Linked DNA regions of Homo sapiens: region 2 is linked to region 1. The links are contacts of gene promoters, found by promoter capture Hi-C in blood cells and fetal thymus (Javierre and others, 2016). All regions are on one chromosome and are shown on one strand. Each heading gives the region's core, a stretch centred on a gene start or on the middle of the fragment in contact. The rest is flanking DNA. Distances are from core to core; before and after follow the strand shown.

What was found. The method cuts DNA at HindIII sites, captures the fragments that hold promoters and counts their contacts. A CHiCAGO score of 5 or more calls a contact.
Region 2: a fragment that was not itself captured here is called in contact with the fragment with the promoter of RET in region 1 in 1 of 17 cell types (M1 macrophages); the score reaches 6.0 in M1 macrophages.

Annotation. Positions count from the first base shown.
Region 1 is chr10:43,075,687-43,079,563 of GRCh38, forward strand. RET (ret proto-oncogene) reads left to right here and starts at 1,383. Exons shown (of 20, transcript NM_020975.6): 1 at 1,383-1,645. The coding sequence starts at 1,573. RefSeq lists enhancers at 440-706, 572-1,429, 1,738-2,728 and promoters at 922-1,605, 1,307-1,605. The HindIII fragment of the contact is 20,268 bases long and covers 1-3,877 here.
Region 2 is chr10:42,783,352-42,786,946 of GRCh38, forward strand. It overlaps BMS1 (BMS1 ribosome biogenesis factor), which reads left to right. Exons shown (of 23, transcript NM_014753.4): 2 at 1,011-1,219; 3 at 2,131-2,321. The coding sequence starts at 1,044. Among named protein-coding and RNA genes, the nearest start is that of BMS1, 2.4 kb to the left of the region's middle. The HindIII fragment of the contact is 1,222 bases long and covers 1,369-2,590 here.

The DNA of each region.
Region 1 (3,877 bases), core at 133-2,632:
TAGCTCCATAAACTGGAAGGGTGTGGCAGGCAGCCGGAGTCCAGTGGCCCACAGTGTCTCTCCTGGGCTGGCAGGCCTGTGCCCCGGCCACCTGCCCCTCAGCAAGCCAGGTCTGGACATCACGGTTGGCTGAGTGCAAGCCAGCCTCTGTCTTGGCAGCTCCCCCTCCTGCCTGTGAGGGTGACTTCACTTTGACTTCATATCTGCAGTGATGTGCAGATCACTTATTCAGCCCTGAGCTCAGCCAGGCAAGAGGGCGGGGTTCTGCACACAGCAAGCAAGGGAGCGGCTGGCTCAAGGGTGCCCTGGGCCCAGGTTCCCTGGCTTTTCCTCCTCAAGGGCCCATGGGCTTCCCTTCTTCCATCCCTCTGCGCCTAAGTGCAGGCCAGACCTCAAAAAGCAGCCGGGGATGGGGCGAGAACAGAGGACTTCCCCACTGAGCCCACATCCAACCTCACCCAGAACCCCTTCTCAGGTCCAGTTGCTGCTCCCTATTAGGGGTAAATGTGTTTATGCGCATCATTTCCATCATTTCTTTGGGGGAAAATTGGATTCTTTCCTCCTCCTCGCTACTCGCTCTCCGACTCTGCCAGCCCATCTCCTGAGAGTTCTCCTGTGTAAGGGATGCAAGGGCCACCAGCACCAGGTCTCTGAAAGGACGCCGGAGCCAGTTTCCGGTTTCCAAGGGTTGGACCAGTGCTGGAGGGGGGAATCACAAACTGCCCTTCCAGGACCCTACCCTCTCTACTACCCCAGGATGCTGAAAAAGGCTATTCTGCCTCTCTTCCCCTGCTCAGCTCTTCCCCGCCTCCTGCCTCCGGCCCCAGCAGAGGCCGCGCTCCCACTGCGCCTCTCGCCTCTGAGAAATGGCGCAGCAAGCGCTCCGCGGAGAGCCTGGAGGCGGGGCGCCCTTCTCTGAGTCCGCGGGGTCGCACCCCGAGCCAGTCGGCCAGACCTGCATCCCGCGTAGCATCCCTGCCCTCTCTGTGCAGCGGAAAGGGCAAAAGGCAGGGACTGCAAGCGGGCGCGCACCGGGTAGGAAGAGCGGCTCTGCGTAGGTGCGCGGACCCGGGCTCCTGGGTTCCATCCCCGCCGCGCACCTCGGGGTCCGCACCCGGCTCCTGCCGGGCCCTTTTCGGCCGCACCCCGCTCCCGCACCCCGCTCCTCCCCAAGCCCCACCCGGCCCAAGCCGCGCGTCCCGCACTGAGCTCCTACACGCGCCGCGCCCCGGCCGCACCCCGCGCAGCCAGAGCAAGCACTGGAGCCCCGCCCCTTCCCGCACCCCACCCGCCTCCGGCCCCGCCTGGCCCACCCCTGGACCGCCCCCGCCCCGCCCCGCCCCTACCCGCTCCTCCGGCGCAGCCGGCGCTTACCTCGCTTCAGTCCCGCGACCGAAGCAGGGCGCGCAGCAGCGCTGAGTGCCCCGGAACGTGCGTCGCGCCCCCAGTGTCCGTCGCGTCCGCCGCGCCCCGGGCGGGGATGGGGCGGCCAGACTGAGCGCCGCACCCGCCATCCAGACCCGCCGGCCCTAGCCGCAGTCCCTCCAGCCGTGGCCCCAGCGCGCACGGGCGATGGCGAAGGCGACGTCCGGTGCCGCGGGGCTGCGTCTGCTGTTGCTGCTGCTGCTGCCGCTGCTAGGCAAAGGTGAGTTCTGCCGGCCGCCGGCTCCCGCAGGGGCCAGGGCGAAGTTGGCGCCGAGCAGCGGAGCGGGCGCGTTCAGAAGCGCCTTTCTGTTTGCCGTGGGCAGCGGGCTGTGCGGTCGCCGGCCACCCGGCCTCGGCTGGGAGCGCAGTGGCTGCGGCGGGCGGCGGGCGAAGGGCAGGACGCCTCGGGCCGGGCGCCTCGGGCCGGGGCTGGGCGGGTCTCGGGCGGGAGCGGAGCGCGGGCCGGGCCGCGGGGGTCGGTGCTCAGAACCCTAGCCATAGCCGCAGGTCTCAATCTGGCCGCGCCCTGCGCCAAAGCCGCGTCCTGGAGCAAACGGGACAGCCGTTTCGGGGCCGACCTGGCGGACGGGTCAGGGAGCCCCGAAAGCCCGCGATTCGTGCGGAGAGTTCTGTTTCGGCAGGAGACGGCTCCGTCCTGGTTTCCTTTTCCCGCTCAGCGTCCGTGCGTTCCTCCCCCAGCTCTGCCGTCCTGGCCAGCCGAGGGATTCGGAGGCTCTTTTGAAAAGATTGCTTTTCCCTCGTGCGTTTTTGCCGCCCTGTCTTTAAACACCTAAAAACCGTGGTTTCTGGGGTGGCTCCCCCCGAGGGGCCGCCGTGATAGGCGTCCCACCCGGCAGCCCTGGAGTCGTGTGGCGCTGCCTGGCAGAGATGCTGAAGATGCGGCCATAGGAGGCCCAGGGCTTGGGGTGGGGCAGGGGTTTGCGCCGCCAGCCAGCGTTGGTGCTGGGCCTGGTGAAACCTCAGGTGCCTTAGGATCCCAGCATTAGGTGTGGCCTTGCAAAGATGGTCATCGACCCCACCCAAACTCTGGCAGAGTGAGCCGCAAGGCTGTGGAATCTTTGACCCCTTGGCACGCGTTTAAGTGTCCCTCAAACTGGCCCTGACTTGATCCCCTCCAAGCGCTTGTGTATGAACCAAGTTTCCCTCTAAGAGGGAAGGAGCCCTGGCCATCCTCCCTCACTCCTTACAAAGGGCTTTCTCTCCCCACAGCCTTTGGGAACAGAAGAAGCCATGGTCAGTCACCCTGTCTCTGGCCCCAGGCCCTGCACAAACTGAGTTTCCAGGCCTGCCTGAGACTTCATTTGTGTGACCTGCGCCTCAGCTCAGCATATGCTGAGGCCAGAGCGGGTCCCCAGTCCACCTAGCGAGGGACAGGGGAGAAGCCCTTGCCTTTCTATCTTTTCTGAGTGTTAGGACTTTGGGGTCCCAGTGCTGCAGGGGGAAGACACGGGGCAGAAGCAAACAAGGCGCTCTGACGCTGTCTTGGGATTCTGGGCTGTGGCTTTGGCTTTGAGGTTGTGGGCAGGGGGCCAGGTGTGAACTGCTGCTGGTGTGCTGGGCAGAGGACTTCCCCACACCCTTCCACAGCCTTGCGTTCAGTTGGGGTGGCCAGTGAGGCTGTGGGGGCCAGGCTCTGGGGGCCGGCTTGTGGCACTCAGCAGGCATGCAGGTAGCTTTCCGTGCCCAGACCCCTGGCCCACAGACAGCTTCCCGAATCCAGAGATGGTGAGCCCCTAGCCCCTGGGATAACCCGGACACCACAGTTGGAGGCACTGGGAGTGAAGAGGCAGCCCCACTCCCTGGAGTAGACAGCTGGGGCCTTTGAAGAGGCTGCAGAGCTCTTTCCCAGGAGCCACAGCTCCGGAGGTTCGAGCCGCACTCTTGGAGCTGCCAAGGACCGCCCCAGTGAGCCCCTCGGTGCTCCCCAACCACCCCAAGGGGACAGCTCGGCCTCAAGCGCCCTCTTGCGGACGCTGCACTTTAGTGGCTGGGCCTGATGACAGGCACAGACTGGGTCTCTAGAGGATGAGGGTTCTTCCACAGCTCACACATGCACACTCACACTGGATCACCAAGACACACTCCTGCCCCTTCTCACAGCACTTGCTGCCAAGGCTGTGGACATGCACAGCGTGGTTCCTTCACACCCTGCCTCACCCACGTCCACACAGGGACCCCAGCCCCTCTCATCACTCATACACACAGGGACGCCACGTGTGTATATAGGGACACACACTCCTCATACCTGCAGGGCATAGCCTGTCAGCCCCAGGTATGCTGGAACCAGAGTGAGAGAACCTCCATCTAAAAGTTACATTCATTTAAAAGTTGCTCTTAAAGGTTTCTGGCATTTCATTGCTCAACACAGATACAGCTGTCCCCGTTGCTTGGATGAGGAAACTGAGTCTCAGCTTCTGGGGTTCCCCCCAGG
Region 2 (3,595 bases), core at 730-3,229, 290 kb before region 1:
CCTCCGTGCTCCAGTAGCACCCTGTGCAGCCTTCCAATGTCGCCCTTATTGCGTGGCGCGGAAGATAATAGTTTGGATTTCCTCTGCAAGTCAGATAATAGCTGTATCCACTTACTGGCACAGTGCCTAGCACATCGTAGACAGACACAAATATTTATTCAACGGAATGAATACAGTACCTTAATTGAATGAAATGGCATCCTGCTCCGCTTTTTTTTTTTAATCAAGCTGTCAGATTTTATGCAGCCCGATTTCCTAAAATAACTCACTAATTCAGTGATTGCCAATTTATTAGCCACAGATTCCCAGGTAACTCAGAAATCACTGGAAGGGTCTCTGTAAGTTCATGGGGTCTCCAGGTGTCATCTAGAACCAGTCCTATCTCACACGTACAGCTATTTCTATTTTTCAAATGTATGTAGATAAGTTGTAATTTAGGAGTTTTACAGAGTCAACAGGTACTAAAAGTAATACTGCGATCATATTGGAGGTTCATAAAAACGTTTCACATTTTTTTATTAAAATTTAAGTTTTAGTTTAAGTTAGGAAACCACTTCATCAGTCCAGTTGATACCTGGGTCTGAGCTGTCCAGTATGGTAGCCACATGTGACTATTTGGAGTTAGAATGAAATTAATTAAAAACTCATTTTTTCAGTTTCCCTAAGTATATTGTAAGTAACCACATGTGGCTAATGGCTAAATGGCTGAAAAGTACAGATATAGTATATTTCTATCCTTGCAGAAATAGATACTGCTGATGTTGACACTTAAGATGAATAAAAAGTAACTTAACCATAAAATGTAATCTTAAGAGAGGTAACTCATCTAATTTATAGCATAACAGAGAGAAATGAAATTGGGGATGGTTAAGCAGTTTCTACCCTTGTTCAGTGAACAAATACATCATCTCTTCATAAAGAAATAAATGAAATTTACTGTTTTTCCCTGGGTATTGCCTGGATTGTAAAATGCTTCTCCCATCTCCTTACCCCAACCTTCTTCCTTGTAGGTTAGAGTTACTTGTTATTGGTAAATAGCCACTATGGAGGCTAAGGACCAGAAGAAACACAGAAAGAAAAACAGTGGACCCAAAGCTGCAAAGAAAAAGAAGCGGCTTCTGCAGGATCTCCAGCTAGGAGACGAAGAAGATGCCCGGAAGAGAAATCCCAAAGCTTTTGCAGTTCAGTCTGCTGTGCGGATGGCTCGATCCTTTCACAGGTATGTTAGGCTACGGTCTGGTCATTCTTCCATTGATTCTTTTTTTAAATAGTAGGAGCCTCTCACAGGTGACATTTGGATTCACGAGTCTAGTCCAGCTCCAAAGGACATGGAGATTCATGGTGTGTGGCTTTCACTAAAACGTGAGAAGCTTTTCCCATAGAAGCTGCCTTGCCTCCAGCATCTGCATACTGGTTAGTGTTTATTGCCCAGGATACAAGAATTTATAGACTTTGTTTGTTCCTAAATTTTAAACTGTTTCTATGGTGATAAGTGTGCTTTTTCCCCCCAGGTATGTTTTACATAGTTGTAATATAAAATACAAAAATTACAATATTTAATACTAACATAGCTTTATTTAGTGAGCCCTTGTGATATGCCTAGCAGTGTACTTTAAACATTATTCAACTAAATCCTTCCAGCAGCCTTACCAGAGTAGGAATCATTCTTGCCCTCATTTTATGGGTAAGAAAACTGAGATCAAGAAAACAAGTTACCTCCAATCATATAACCAGTAAGTAGGAGAGCTAAATGTAACTCCAGCGCCTCTGCTCTTATCTGCTATGATGTACTGCCTCGCTATTTACCTTTTGGTTTTTTAAAAAACTATTAAAATCACTCTTAAAACAGTCAGATTTAAGGAGTGTTTAATTTTCGCTCTCTATAGTATTGAAGTCATCTTGTTACATCTTTATTGAACAGCAATTATTTGGATGGGGCCAGAAGTTAGCAAGTTAATAATTGACAAGTTAATTATATTTATATATTGTCTGTTGTACTCTCTATAAAATGTGCTAAAGTACTCATAGCTATAAGTGTACCAAAAAAGTCTACTTATAAGGTTGATACCTTTTACTCTATTTTGAAAATGAGTTTACTATTTATTTATTTGTTTATTTTTTAATGAATAGGACTCAGGATTTGAAGACAAAAAAGCATCATATTCCAGTGGTTGATCGAACTCCACTAGAGCCCCCACCAATAGTGGTAGTGGTGATGGGACCTCCAAAAGTTGGAAAGAGCACTTTGATACAATGCCTCATTCGGAACTTTACCCGGCAGAAGTTGACTGAGATCAGAGGCCCTGTGACGATTGTGTCAGGTAGGAGATGCCACCACAGACACAGAGTTGGCGTGGCTGTTGTCATCTGAGGGACATGCATGCGTTTGTTGTTTTCTTGAGTGGAACATGTTAAATATTGTCATATCATGGGACTTCTCTTATACTTAGTATTACTAAGTTGGCTATAGCTTCAGAAAAGGGTAAGTTCCCAGAGATAAGGATGTGATAATGTTCACATTTCCTCCCAGCACTCTGGGAGGTTCCAAGGCAGGAAGATACTCGAACCCAGCACTCGGGCTGGAAAATCAAGCTTTGCTGCTCGATTGCGACACCAGCCACAGTCCTCTTCCTCCGTGTAGAAGGATGTGTGGTCCAGCCTCTTAAGGTGATGCTTTCCTTTTCTTCCTGGTTTCCTCCTCCATTTTTTGTATGAGAAATGATAATGTTCACTATGTCTTATCCTGACTGCTCTTTGGCTTTGCCAAACATGTTCCTTGGAAGGGCCTAGCAGGCCTAGTCACCGTGAACACATCATTTAACAGATAGCACGCACCTCCTATGTGCCAGGTGCATATGCTTGCCTTATGAAGCCACATTCTGGTGGAAGTGCGAGTTTTCTCTTTTTCCTGTGAGAATTGTCTGCTTTGGGAGATGGTGACCTTTCCGAGTTTGAGGGAAAATGAAACAAACTTCCAGTGGTAGAATGGCAATGTACACTCTGAAATCTCTTGTTATTGCAATAATATAGTTGGATTGAGGCTTTTCTTTATCTTTGGAGCATCCATATTTTCTTTTCCCTTTTTTGAGACAGAGTCTTACTCTGTGGTACAGGCTGGAGTGCAGTGGTGTGATTACGGCTCACTGCAGCCTCTACCTCCCAGGTTCAAGCATTCCTCCTACCTTAGCCTCCTGAGTAGTGTATGCCACCACGCCTGGCTAATTTTTCTTTTTTTTCCTTTTTTTTTTTTTTCTGTAGAGATGGGGTTTCCCCATATGGCCCAGGCTGGTCTCAAAACTCCTGGGCTCAAGGGATCCGCCTGCCTTGGCCTCCCAAGTTGCTGGGACTACAGGCGAGAGCTACTGTGCCCAGCCCATATTTTCTTGACTGTTTTATTTTTACCTTAATTTAGAAGTAATTATTGTTATGAATATTCTGTTGCATTATGTTTGAGGATGTTTGTAGCTCTAGTGGGAATACGGGAAGTTTTGATAGAGGCAAAGACATTGGGCCTGCAGCTGAACAGCAGGATCATGGTTATCATGGAGTCTGTGCAGTCAGAATTTTCCCTTTTTGAGCACTTTTATTCATCTGG